3 separate regions of the Homo sapiens genome follow, and all the other regions are linked to region 1. Evidence: promoter capture Hi-C in 16 types of primary human blood cells and fetal thymus (Javierre and others, 2016). All regions are on one chromosome and are shown on one strand. Each heading gives the region's core, a stretch centred on a gene start or on the middle of the fragment in contact. The rest is flanking DNA. Distances are from core to core; before and after follow the strand shown. Region 1 holds the start of MEIS3 (Meis homeobox 3). Region 2 overlaps BICRA (BRD4 interacting chromatin remodeling complex associated protein). Region 3 holds the start of EHD2 (EH domain containing 2).

Evidence for each region. The method cuts DNA at HindIII sites, captures the fragments that hold promoters and counts their contacts. A CHiCAGO score of 5 or more calls a contact.
Region 2: a fragment that was not itself captured here is called in contact with the fragment with the promoter of MEIS3 in region 1 in 5 of 17 cell types (erythroblasts, neutrophils, endothelial precursors and 2 more); the score reaches 5.6 in erythroblasts.
Region 3: a contact is called between the fragment with the promoter of EHD2 here and the fragment with the promoter of MEIS3 in region 1, in 4 of 17 cell types (neutrophils, erythroblasts, naive CD8 T cells and 1 more). The highest score is 9.3, in neutrophils.

Annotation. Positions count from the first base shown.
Region 1 is chr19:47,417,097-47,421,439 of GRCh38, forward strand. It overlaps MEIS3 (Meis homeobox 3), which reads right to left and starts at 2,431. Exons shown (of 13, transcript NM_001301059.2): 1 at 1,974-2,431; 2 at 82-254. The coding sequence starts at 1,985. RefSeq lists enhancers at 525-1,517, 1,518-2,511. The HindIII fragment of the contact is 31,601 bases long and covers 404-4,343 here.
Region 2 is chr19:47,683,998-47,688,634 of GRCh38, forward strand. The region is part of intron 7 of BICRA (BRD4 interacting chromatin remodeling complex associated protein); the gene reads left to right. Among named protein-coding and RNA genes, the nearest start is that of EHD2, 27 kb to the right of the region's middle. The HindIII fragment of the contact is 2,612 bases long and covers 1,312-3,923 here.
Region 3 is chr19:47,711,213-47,715,472 of GRCh38, forward strand. EHD2 (EH domain containing 2) reads left to right here and starts at 2,210. Exons shown (of 6, transcript NM_014601.4): 1 at 2,210-2,326. RefSeq lists a silencer at 2,087-2,186. The HindIII fragment of the contact is 37,601 bases long and covers 1-4,260 here.

The sequences.
Region 1 (4,343 bases), core at 1,181-3,680:
GAGACAGAAGCAGACCCAGGGAGCAAAGAAGCAGAAAGACAGAGAGAGAGAGACAGGAGCCTGAGACCCGGCCCCACTCACCCATAGATCTCATCCTTCTCCCTCTTCAGGCCGTCGCTGTCCAAGCCTGGGGGCAGGGGCTGGGGAGGCCGGTGCGGGCCATAGGGCCCTGGTACTGCGGGCACTGTCTCTGGGAAGCTAGCCAGGGCTGCGGGGCCATCCACGATGCCTGGGTAGTGCGGCAGCTCATCATACTGGGGGAAGGTGAGAAGAGAAGGGCGGAGCCCCAGGGAGGGGTCAGCACCCCGAGACTCGGCTGAGGAGCTTCTCTATCCTGGAACCCAGGAGATGCCCTTCTGTGTCCCAGAAACCTGCCTGTGGTCCCCAGGTGTCTGAGCCCCCAAGCTTGAAGCCCTCCAGGTCCCCTGGAGCTGCCTCGGTGGGGAGTGAGGACCCCGTCCAGGCAGAGATTCCTGACATGTGGGCAGGAGGACCCAGAGGGAGAGACGGCAGGGTCTGGCTGGGAGGGAAAAGAGATGGAGAAAGTGGCGTGAGAAGACAGTGACAGAGACAGAGAGAGAGACAGACAGAGAGGGAGATCCATGGACACCTCCTGTAGGAACCGCGCATTGTTGTACACAAAGTACACATACGAAGCCTCCCTGTCTTCTATTTCATTTCACAGTTGGCAGATAAGCGCATCAGAGTAAGTCTCAACAACATGTCACACTCCACTCGCCACGTGAATCTACCACACATGTAGACACAGCCATACACACCAACCCACGTGCACACTCATGTGTCAGTCACACCCAAATCCCCCCCCCCACACACACATGCACACACACATGCACACAGCCCAACACCAGGCACAAGAATGAATGCATGATTGAGACATTTGGCACATGGATGAATGAATGAATGAGGCATTTAGCACAGGGCCTGGCTCATGCTGTGAGCACTTGTTGCCGGAGAGGGTCACTCCGCACCACCATACAGACACGATTGCGCACCCAAGAGAAACACCATTATGGGGTAGGACGACCGCGTCCTGTCGTCACAGAACCATGCACCTGGGAAGCCAGGGGCACCTTCCTCTCATCAGGTCAAATCCCTTCCTCAGTGATGAAGACACGGAGGCTCAAAGAGGCAGCAGGACTCGCACGGGAAGAGGCTAGAACGTTCCTGCCTCGGACCCTCGCCTGGCTGGGCACCCTGGTTCTGTGTGTCCCACTCTTTCCCTCTCCCTCTTCTCCTAACTTCTCCTGTGCCCTGAAGTTGAATCCAACTGCTCCCCGCTGCTCAAGGCACTCTCACCAAAAGCGGTCCTCACAGCCTACCCGGAACCCCCAAAACGGGCGCGCGCCTCCTCCCCTGTCTTCTATCCCCGTTCCCATCCCCAGGGAGACAGGCTCCGTGGGGCCAGCAGCCTGGTGAGACCACCTCTCCCACCCCTGTCCCACTCCTAGCCCTGGAGAGGCAGGGGCGGCTTGGAACAAAAGTAGAGCGAAGGGAAGGACGGAGGAGAGCAGAAAAAAGGGGGGACGGTGAGGTGCGGGCGGCTGAGATGGAGGAGGAAGCCCAGGAACAGAGGAGAGAGACTGCGGGTGGGGGAGGGCAGAGAGAGGGGGATAGAGAGGCAGAAAGAGGGGGGAGACCAGGGACAGAGAGAGGGGGACAGAGAGGCAGAAAGGAGGAGGAGAGTGGGGCAGACAGAGGGGGACAGAGGGGCAGGGAGAAGGAGAAGCTAAACGATGGGGAGGAGGCGAGGCCGAGGGCCAGGAAGAGACACTTGGGGGCAGAGAGGGGGCACACAGGGACTGGGAGACCCAGGGGCGGAGGGAGGGGCAGAGAGAGAGCGAGGTGGTGTAGAGGACGGATGGGCTAATGGGGGCCAGCGCCGGAGAGTGGGGGATGCAGGGACAGGGGGTGCGGAAGCGGCCGGGACGCGGGGTCCCCGCCCCGAGACCTACCCTCCGGGCCATGGGCTGAGGCCGGCGGCAGCTCCTGGGTCCCTCCAGAGCCTGGCCGCGGGGGAGGGCGCAGCCCGGGGCCGCAGCCCCTGACGGCCCGCGGTGTTGACGCCAGGGGGTGGGCAGGAGGCCAGGCGCGCGCCCCCCCACCCCCGCCGCCGTCAGCGGCAGGCGCCGGGCCGGGTGGGGACTCCGCGCATGGACCCCGGCCCCCGCCCCCAGCGGGGGTCACGGCCAGGAGCGCATCGCCGCCGGGGCGGGGGCAGCAGGCGCAGGCGGGGCGCCCGAGGCCCCCTCCTCTGGGCCCCCCCCGTCCCTTCCCCGGCTCTGGAGGGAATCGAACCGTCCCGAGACGGACACACCGGGGACCGCAGGGGGCGGGGGGCGGCCCGGGGCGACGGAGGGTCCGGCGGCGGCTCAGGGGTGCTGGCAGCCGCGCTCCCCGTTCCCGGTCTCTCCCTTGTCTTGTGGAAATTAAACAGAACCACCAAGGAGCGGGATAGGGGATGAGCCAGAGTGAGCCTGCAGAGCTACAGCACGAGGGATTGGGGTTAGGGCAGCAGCAGCACTTCCGGTGGGAGTCGGGGAGGGGCAGGCTGTGGGGGGAGGAGAGGAAGAGACCGCGGCCCTGGTGCCCCCAGGCCCCTCCTCTCCTACCCAGGGCTGGGGTTCCTGCTCCGGGTTTCTCAGTCTCCCTCTTTCCCAGTCTCTCTCTCCTTGTCTCTCTCTGTCTCCGCTTCTCCCGTCCTTTCTCTCCTCTGGCTCTCTGTTCTCCGAGCCCCCTGGACACACCACGGACCCCCTCCCTGGCCATCTCCAGGGGTCACGTGGGAATCTGGAGTCTGGTCCCACCGTAGGCTCTCCCCTCTCTGAGGCTCGATTCCCCCTCTGCAGGATGGGCAGTGCGCTGGGGGCGGCGGGGGTGGGCTGTGGATAACGGAGAAACAGTTAAGCTAGAGGGTGCCAGGACTCAGGGTCTTGGCTGAGTCTGGGGGTCCCCATGCCGGCGGGCTCTGCCCCCGTGGCTGTCCTGCGGTGAGGCTGGCCGTTTAAGGCAGTCCGAGGGGAAGGGTCTGGAGGCCTTGCCTTTCCTCAAGGCCGGCGCACCCCAGATAGGGGTTTTGGAGCAGAAAATTAATTTAAATCACTTTTTAATTAAAGACACAAGGCCCTTTGGTCTGCTCCACCCCCACCTCACCCTCAGCCAAGACTTGGGGTGAGGGATGCAAGGGTTAGGAGTCTCTGGCTCTATTTGCTTTTTTGGGGGGTGGTGCATGCTAAGGTCCCCTTAGCCCAGGCTGATTCTGAAACCTAGAGGAGCAAGTGCGGCCTCATCTGACGGCCAGTGGTGGGGGGCGTGGACAGAGCAGGAAGGGAGGGAGGGGGCACCTGGGATGGGGATGGGGCCTAACTGGAGTGGGGAGGGAGGTAACTCCAGTGACGGTGTGATTCAGAGAGAGAGAGAGACAGAGACAGACGCGGGTGGGAGGAGAGAGAGAGAGAGGTGCAGACAGAGTGAGACAGACAGGAGGGGGAGGGAGTGGGGGACAGGAGCTCCAATAGAGACCCTGGAGTCGTCCCTGCCACCCCCAAAACAAGAGCAGGGGGCTTGGACTCTGAAGCATAAATCTTTCTAATTAAAGAAAGAGACGAGCTGTTGGGAAGGGAGAAATAAGTGTGTGGGAGAGAAATTGATTGGGGGAGGATGGAGGATGCCGGCGGGGGACGGAGGGAGCAGGGGGGAGGCTCCGGCTTTCTGAGGCTCTTCCTCCAGTCTTTCCCTCTGTCTGTCCATCCGTCTGTCTGTCCGTCTCTGTCTCTCGCTCTCTCTCTCTCTCTCTCACACACACACACACACACACACACACACACTCTCTCTCTCTCTCTCTCTCTCTCTCTCTCTCTTCCTGGCTGTCTCCCTTAAATAGTCCTGGGACCCTTCTGTTCCCAGGGGGAGGGAGCAGGTGGCGGCCAGGCCTGGTGCTGGAGCGGGGGTGCCTGTGTCACTGCGTCGCGGCTGCCTGTCGGCTCTTCGAGGGTGTGCTTGGGCCTCCCTGTGACAGTGTCTGGAAGCGTCTTCCCTGCCCGGCTGAGTGGCTCCCTGGGTGGCATCAGAGTGACCCCAGCTCCCAGTCTGCAGGGGTCTCCGCCCTCTAGCCCTGTCCTGCACCTGTTTTACAGACGGGAAGCGTGGAGCCCTCTATGAGTAGATCTGGGGGACCTCATGGGTCTCCCCAGCACGGGCTGGGCGATCTCTCAGCGGACTGGCCCTTCAGTGCCCCAACCTGAGCACCGACCACTGGGGCTATGCCCACCAGGCAGCCACGTCCCCCGGGGATCCGCAGTGGTCCCCAGGATCCCCTCTGAAAG
Region 2 (4,637 bases), core at 1,368-3,867, 270 kb after region 1:
CTTTGACCTCGAACGGCCATGGTTTCACTTGCACGCTCTCCCACTTACCATTTAACCTTCAGCAACCAGTTTTTCATTCCATCAGCAGGTGCCTAGGCAGGCTGAGGGAGCACTTAGGTGGAGTAAACGAGTTACTATATGCTTAGCACAAAGTAAGCACTTGATAAATGTTTGCTTTTATTATTATTACTATTATCTTGAGGGGGACAGAGTCCCACTCCGTCGCCTAGGCTGCAGTGCAGTGGCAAGATCTCGGCTCGCTGCAATCTCCACCTCCTGGGTTCAAGTGATTCTCCTGCCTCAGCTTCTGGGTAGCTGGGATTACAGGTGCCTGCCACCATGTTTGGCTAATTTTCATATTTTTAGTAGAGATAGTGTATCACCATGTTGGCCAAGCTGGTCTCAAACGCCTGACCTCAGGTGAACCACCTGCCTCGGCCTCCCAAATTGCTGGGATTTACAGGCGCCCGCCACCATGCCTGGCTAATTTCTATATTTTTAGTAGAGAGATGGGGTTTCGCCATGTTGGCCAGGCTGGTCTCAAACTCCTGACCTCAGGTGATCCACCCACCTCAGCCTCCCAGAGTGCTGGGATGACAGGTGTGAGACACCGCGCCCGGCCTAGCACTCTCTCATTTAAACCTCACCACCTCCACCAGGTAGGTGGTAGCATCTCATTTTGCAGGTGAGGAAACAGAGGCACAGGGAGAATAATTAGCTTGCCCAAGGTTGCACAGCTGGCAAATGGTAGGGCCTGGATTAAAAACCCTGGGGGCTTATTGCTGGAAACACCTGAAGTCTTGAGAAAGCCAGACCTGGGTGTGAATCCAGCTCTGCTTAGTGGAGCTCTCTGAGGCATGGATTTTGCATCTAAAATGGGAATAAGCCCAGTGACCTGACATGATGGCACTGCACAGAGCCAGCGCTCAGTGAACAGACACTTACTGTTAGCAGTTGCAGTAATGATGCTGTAGCTGAACTTATTTTTTTGGAAACAGGGTCTGGTTCTGTCACCCAGGCTGGAGTACACTGGTGCAATATTGACTCCTACAACCTCCGCCTCCCATGCTTAAGTGATCCTCCCACCTCAGCCTCCGAAGTAGCTGGGACTACAGGCATGTGCCACCACGCACAGCTAATTTTTTTTTTTTTTGTATTTTGTTTTGTGGGGGAGATATGGGGTCTCACTATGCAGCCCAGGCTGGTCTCGAACTCCTAGGCTTAGTAATCCTCCCACCTTGGCTTCTCACAGGGCTGGGATTATGGACGTGAGCCACTGTGCCTGGCCACGCGGATGACCTTTGAGAAGGAAGCTTAGTGCGCACAGGCAGGTGTGCACACGAGCTGATTCTTAGTCACACACAGAGGCTCGGAGGCACAAGGTAGGGCCCTCCGCAGTAGCTGTATCTGCAGCAGTGGGGACCCAGCATGACAGAAGGTGGTCAGTGAATGTTTGTTGGGTGAGCAAATGGATGGACAGATGGATGGCTGAATAGACGGACGGATGGATGGCATGGGTGGGTGTGTGACTGGGTGATTGGCCAAGTGTCCCCTGGTGGGGACAGAATCATCCAGACTGGGAACCGCTATCCTGTGGATATGCAGGAATGCACGGAATAGCAGTTCCCAATCTGGGTGATTCTTACTGTTTGTAAGAATAGTGGTTCCCTTACTGTCCGAACTCCAACCCCTGCACTCGGAAGGAACTCTGTGCTCTCTGTACCCAGATGGATTTGGCAGCCTCTGTGTGTGTGTGTGTGTGTGTGTGTGTGTGTGTGTGTGTGTGTGTGCGCGCGCGCGCGCATGCGTACATTTTCCCTTTGTGTTAACACAAACAGAAATGCAAAGACTGTGTTCTGCATCTGGCTTTGCTTATTTAGCAACGCATCTTGGAGCACTGGCTTTCAGACCTTTTTTTTTCCTTGACCCACCACCCGGGATAAGAATTTGTTTTTTTTTTTTTTTCTCTGTCACCCAGGCTGGAGTGCAGTGGCACGATCTTGGCTAACTGCAACCTTCACCTCCCAGGTTCAAGCGATTCTCCTGCCTCAGCCTCCCGAGTAGCTGGGACTACAGGCGCACGCCACCGCATCCAGCTAATATTTGTATTTTTAGTAGAGACAGGTTTTCTCCATGTTGGCCAGGCTGGTCTTGAACTCCTTACCTCAGGTGATCTGTCTGCCTTGGCCTCCCAAAGTCCTGGGATTACAGGCATGAGCCACCATGCCCGGCACAAGAATTTCATTTTATGTCACCACCCAGGACATGCATACATATATGTATTTGTATATATACACATATCACTGAAACAAAAGTTTCATGAAATATTACCTATATTACAATGTGTGATACACATCAATATTTTCTATTTTGTTTCCATTGTTTTTTCTGGGGTTAGCGGGGAGGCATGGAGTCTCCCTCTGCTGCCCAGGCTGGAGTGTAGTGGCACTATCTCGGCTCACTGCAACCTCCACCTCCCAGGTTCAAGCGATTCTCCTGCCTCAGCTTCCCAAGTAGCTGGGATTACAGGAGTGCCCCACCATGCCAAGCTGATTTTTGTATTTTTAGTTGAGACAAGGTTTCACCATGTTGCCGAGGGTGGTCTCAAACTCCTGACCTCAGGTGATCTGCCCACCTTGGCCTCCCAAAGTGCTGAGATTACAGGCGTGAGCCACTGCGCCCAGCCTCTACTGTTCTTTTTAAGTGCTGGTTCCAACTCCCTAAGATGACTTGAGCCATTACCAATGGTTACTATGTGTAGGGGTGTGTTTTTATTTTTGGGGGTTTTTTTGCAAGCTACCATCTGGGAAGATTGCTGTGATGTGGGAGTTAGGAAATAGGACTTGGCCACTTACAGGCCCTGTGACCTTCAGCAGGCTGCTTGCCTCTCTGTTGTACCACGGTGTCCTTGCGTGCAGAATCAGAATGATAGGAACAGCGGCTACTTTGTAGAGCTGTGAGGGTTAAATAAACTAATATCTGTAAATTAATAGATGTATATTAACATTAAAATGTTTTAGAACAGAGTTGGGCATGTTGAAAGAGCTATGAAGGGAAAGAAGCCAGGCAAACTTTCTTTTTGCTTATTTGATTTTTATTCATTTATTTGTTTATTTTTCTGGGCAACTTTCTATAAAGAGGCAATAGTAAACGTTTCAGGCTTTTGCGGGCCATATGGTCTCTGTTATTATAGCACAAAAGCAGCCACAGACCATATGTAAATGAATGAACACGGGAGTGTTCCAATAAAACTTTATTTAAGGACACTGAAATTGGAATTTCATGTAATTTTTGCAAGTCACGAAATAGTATTCTTATGATTTTTTTTCTTCAACTGTTTAAAAATGTAAAAATTATTCTTGGCTTGTGGGCTATAGTTTGCCTCTTTCTTTTGATGTCTTTATTGTGTTTTGTGATATGGACATACCATTATTTCTTTATTCAGTCCCCTCTTGAGGAATACTTCAGGTGGTTTATTTGTCATTGTTAACAAACAAAACTCCTATAAGATATTCTTGACTGAGCGTGTTGGCTCACACCTGTAGTCTCAGCACTTTGGGAGGCCGAGGCGGGCAATCACCTGAGGTCAGGAGTGTGAGACCAGCCTGGCCAACATGGGGAAACCCCATCTCTACTAAAAATACAAAAATGAGCCAGGCGTGATGGTGGGCACCTGTAATCCCAGCTATGCTACTTGGGAGGCTGAGGCAGGGGAATCCCTTGAACCTGGGAGGCGGAGATTGTAGTGAGCCTAGAGAGGGTTGCAGTGAGCTGAGATCGTGCCACTACACTCTAGCCTAGGCAGCAGAGTGAGACTCTGCCTCAAAAAAAAAAAAAAAAACTTGCACCCATGCTTTGCACACAGGTATGAAAGTACTTGTAGGGTAAATTTCTAGAAATAGAATTGCCAGACGTAGATGATAAGCTTTCCAGCCATTTTGTGGAAAGTGCTAAACCTTTTTGAAAAGGTTCATGCCAGTGATGGCTTCACTTGGTCCTGCAGCTTTACTGACACACGAGATTAGCAGCTGGCCTGTTCTTTGCCAGGCTGGAAAGTGACACACCCCCTGTGCTTTTCTCTAATTGTGTGTGAAGTTGAGCATCTTGCCGCCTCCACGTGGGGCTCTCGAAATCTCTTGGAAGCTGGGCGTGGTGGCTCATGCCTGTAGTCCCAGCTACTCAGGAGGGAGGCTGAGGCAGGAGGATCACCTGAGCCCAGGAGTTTGAGGTCAGCCTGAACAACATAGCGAGATCTCATTTCTGAAGAAAGAAAGAAATGGAAGGAAGAGAAGGAGGGAATCTCTTGGTGAACAATCCACTCATATGTTAGTTTTTTTGCTTTGGGAAGCTAAGATGGGGGATCACTTGAGGCTAGCAGTTGAAGACCAAATAATAATAATAATTTTGTGCTCATTTAGAGAATGTAGAAAATACAGAAAAGAACAAAGAAGAAAAATAAGTCACATGTAATACCACTGTGTGCAAGCAGTTGGTAAAAAAAAATTTTTTCTGGCCAGGCACAGTGGCTCATGCCTGTAATCCCAACATTTTGGGAAGCCGAGTTGGGTGGATCACGAGGTCAAGATATCGAGACCATCCTGGCCAACATGGTGAAACCCCGTCTCTACTAAAAATAC
Region 3 (4,260 bases), core at 960-3,459, 290 kb after region 1:
GTGAAACCCCTTGTCTGCTAAAAACACAAAATTAGGCCGGGCGCAGTGGCTCATGCCTATAATCCCAGCACTTTGGGAGGCCGAGGCGGGCAGATCACGAGGTCAGGAGATCGAGACCATCTTGGCTAACATGGTGAAACCCTGTCTGTACTAAAAATACAAAAAATTAGCCGGGAATGGTGGTGGGCGCCGTAATCCCAGCTACTCGGGAGGCTGGGGCAGGAGAATGGCGTGAACCCGGGAGGCGGAGCTTGCAGTGAGCCGAGATCGTGCCACTGCACTCCAGCCTGTGCGACAGAGCGAGACTCTGACTCAAAAAAACAAAACAAAACAAAATTAGCCAAGTGTGGTGGCATGCACCTGTAATCCCAGCTACTGGGGAGATTGAGGGAGGAGAATAGTTTGAACCCAGGAGGCGGAGGTTGCAGTGAGCTGAGATCGTGCCACTGCACTCCAGCCTGGGCGATAGAGTAAGACTGTCTCAAAAACAAAAACAAAAACCAAAACCCCAAAACTCCTGTTTCTTGGAGATATGATGAGGGTTCGATGAGCTAATACATGCATGCAAAGAGCTCAGAGCGGTGCCTGCACATAGGAATGGCTCAGTCAACATTAGGGATTGTTTCTACAAATGTTTACTGAGCCCCTGCAGGGAGTTGGGCATTGTGCAAAGCCCTCACGGGGCTCATGTTCTCAGGGCAAAGACAGTCCCTTAGGCAGAGAAATGTGGAATATGCAGAGTGGTTGGGAGGGCTGTGGAGAAAAATAGGGCAGTGATAAGAGGTAGAGAGTGGGTTCTACCTTAGCCAGGGTGATCCTGGAGGACTTCTCTGAGGAGGTGACATTTGAGCAGGGACCTGAAGGAGGGGAGAGAGTGAGGCATTCAGATCCCTATGGGGAAAGTACTCCATGGAGAGGAGTCAGCAAGTGCAAAGGCCATGAACTTGGAGGGTTGGGGGTGTGTCTGAGGAATGGTGAGGAGGCCACGGCGGTTGGAGCCGCCTGAGGAAGGGGGACAGGGGAGATGTAGGTGGATCATGCTAGGCTTTGTGGGCCTTGGTGTGGACTTCGGCTTTTACTCTGAGAGAGAGGAGAGCCAGGGAGGGTTGTCAGCTGAGAAGTTTCATCAACTCCCTTAAGTTTTAATATTAATATTATATTTACTTATTTATTTGCGATGGATTCTCACTCTGTCACCCAGGCTGGAGTGCAGTGGCGTGATCTTGGCTCACTGCAACCTCTGCCTCCTGGGTTCCAGTGATTCTGGAACTTGGGAGCCTCAGCCTCCCAAGTAGCTAGGACTACAGGTGCGTGCCTGCATCCAGCTAATTTTTGTTTATTTATTTATTTTTGAGATGGAGTCTTGCTCTGTCCCCAGGCTGGAGTGCAGTGGCGCAATCACTGCAAGCTCCACCTCCCCTGTGTTTAAGTGATTCTCCTGCCTCAGCTTCCCAAATAGCTGGGACTACAGGCGCCCGCCACCACGCCCAGCTAATTTTTTTGTATTTTTAGTAGAGATGGGTTTGCACCATGTTGGCCAGGCTGGTCTTGAACTCCTGACCTCAAGTGATCCACCCGCCTCGGCCTCCCAAAGTGCTGGGATTACAGGCGTGAGCCACCGCGCCCCGTCCTATTATTTTTTTTAGAGGTGAGGTCTCGCTCTGTCACCCAGGCTGGAGTGCAGTGGCACAATCATAGCTCACTGCAGCCTTGACCTCCTGGGTTCAAGCTATCCTCCCACCTCAGCTTTCCAAGTTGCTGGGATCACAGGTGTGCACCCCTGTGCCTGGCTAAATTATTTTATTATTTATTATTATTTTTAATAGACATGGGGTCTCGCTATATTGTCCAGGCTGGTCTTGGACTCCTGGCCTCAAGCAATCTTCCCACCCTGGCCTTCCAAAGTGTTAGGGTTACAGGCGTGAGCCAGGGCGCCCGACCTGTTATTGTTACTATTATTGCTGCTGCTGTTGTGATTCCCGTGTTAAGAAGAGAGACAGACTGGGGAGCAGCCCAACGCTGGAGGTGGAGGCGGAATTCGAACCCCAGGCTGGACGCTGGAGCTCTCGCCCGCCGTGCTAAGGCGTCTTCCCCACTCCCCACAAGGGGGCGCCAGAGGCCGGGCGCCCGGTTTTGAGGGGGGCGCCTCGTCCCGCCCCTCCCTCCTGTCCTCCCTCCCGTCCTCCCCGCTCCGGGCCCCACCCGGCTCAGACGGCTCCGGACGGGACCGCGAGCACAGGCCGCTCCGCGGGCGCTTCGGATCCTCGCGGGACCCCACCCTCTCCCAGCCTGCCCAGCCCGCTGCAGCCGCCAGCGCGCCCCGTCGGTGAGTGCTCCCAGCACCGCAGCTGTCGCCTCCCGACCCCCGCCCAAGCCTGCCCTGGTTCCTCATGCCTGACCCCTGCTCCCTGCCACCCTGTCCCCAGTCTGTAACGGTCTCCCCAGGTGTCCCCCAGTCTTCACCAGTCCCCCCAGTCTGTAACCATGTCCCCCACTCTTCCCACTCCTCCCACTCTTCCTCCCACTCTTCCTCCAGTCTTTCGCAGCCTCTCACACTCCCCCAGTCTCCTCCATCCTCCCCCAACACCCCTCCCTATCCCCTGGGCTAGAAGAGATCCTCTCTGCAGGGTCTCCCTCCACGCCCTCATCCATATCAGCTAACTTGGTCCCTCCAGCCACTCAAGAGCCCCTCTCCTGCCTCACCAGCTCCATCGGCCACCGCTGATAGCATTCTCCCCAGCTCTCTCTCAGGGCCCTCCCTGCCTGGGACACCGCCCAGAGCCCTCTCCCTCTGCCCACATCCCAGATCCTGCCTCTCTTTTCCATTCTTGCCACTCCTTTACGAACTCCTTTTGCTTTTATCTCCCCTACTCCCTGGCCACCCCTTTTAAGTCTCATGATTTTATGGATTTTAGCATATTTGATTTGCAGTTATTTTGATGCTCAAATTGCCCCATGTTTGGCCACTGGGCACCCCTGCAAGCTGGGTCCTCTGTCCCTGTAACATGCCCTATCGGCCTTTGAGCACTTCCTCACCTTCTGACCCAGGCTCACTTGTTCTTCCCTGCCCCCGCCCTGGAATCCACCATTTCTCTAAGGAGTCCCAGGTTCTTTTAGTGGGGAATGGTATTTAGAGACTCCCATCTCACCAAAAGTTGATTCTTTGAAAAGATCAGTAAAATCATAAGCATCAACGGGGAGCAATCGTTTTTGTTTTTCTTTTTTAAAAAAAGCAAATACCCACACCTGTGGCTGATATCGGGAATGAAAGAGGGGACATCACTACAGATCCTACGGTGAATAAAAGGCTAGTAAGGGAAGATAGAGAACACAGTCTGGGTGCTGGAGGTGCTCATTGCTCCTGGGTTGGTCATGGCTAACCTCCCTAACTCAGATCTTTAGACCTATAATAGGATTGCAACCTCTGAGGTCAGGCTGCCTGTGTTTGAGTCCCAGCTTGAGCATTTTCCAGCTAAGTGATCTTGGGTAATTTATTGCTGTCTTCCTGAGCCTCCTTTGCCTTGTTAAAAAAGCAGAGATGAGCCGGCATGGTGGCACACACCTGTAATCCCAACAATTTGGGAGGCTGAGGTGGGTGGATCACCTGAGCTCAGGAGTTCGAGACCACCCAGGGCAACATGGTGAAACCCATCTCTACTAAAAATACAAAAAAAAATTAACTGGGTGTGGTGGTGCATGCCTCTAGTCCCAACTACTTGGGAGGCTGAGGCAGGAGAATCCCTTGAGCCCCAGAGGTGAAGGCTGCAGTGAGCTGAGATTGTATCACTGCACTCCAGCTTGGGCTACAGAGTGAGACTCCATCTCCAAATAAATAAATAAATAAATAAATAAATAAATAAATAAATAAAAAGAAAGAAAAGCAAAGCAAAGCAGGGATGATAATAGACCTACTTTACAGGGTTATAAATGTTAAGTGAGTTAGTACAGTACCTGGCATGCAGTGATCATAAATGTTGCATTATTTTTCTTGTTAACACCCAACAGCCCTCATGACCTGGGTGCACCCAGGCAACCTTCTCAGCTCCATTTCTCACCCCTCCTCTTTGTGCCCCTGTGTCTGGCCACCTACCCAGATGTTTCATGGCTCCCAGTACACCAGGACCTTTCACATCCCCAGACCTTTGCACGCACCGTCCTCTCTGCCTAAATCCCCTTGTCTTGCCTGCTCTTCATGGAGCAGCTCAAAAGTCAACCCTGCCCTGAGTCTTACTGGTGCTGTGGTCTGTTTCTCATGCCCTC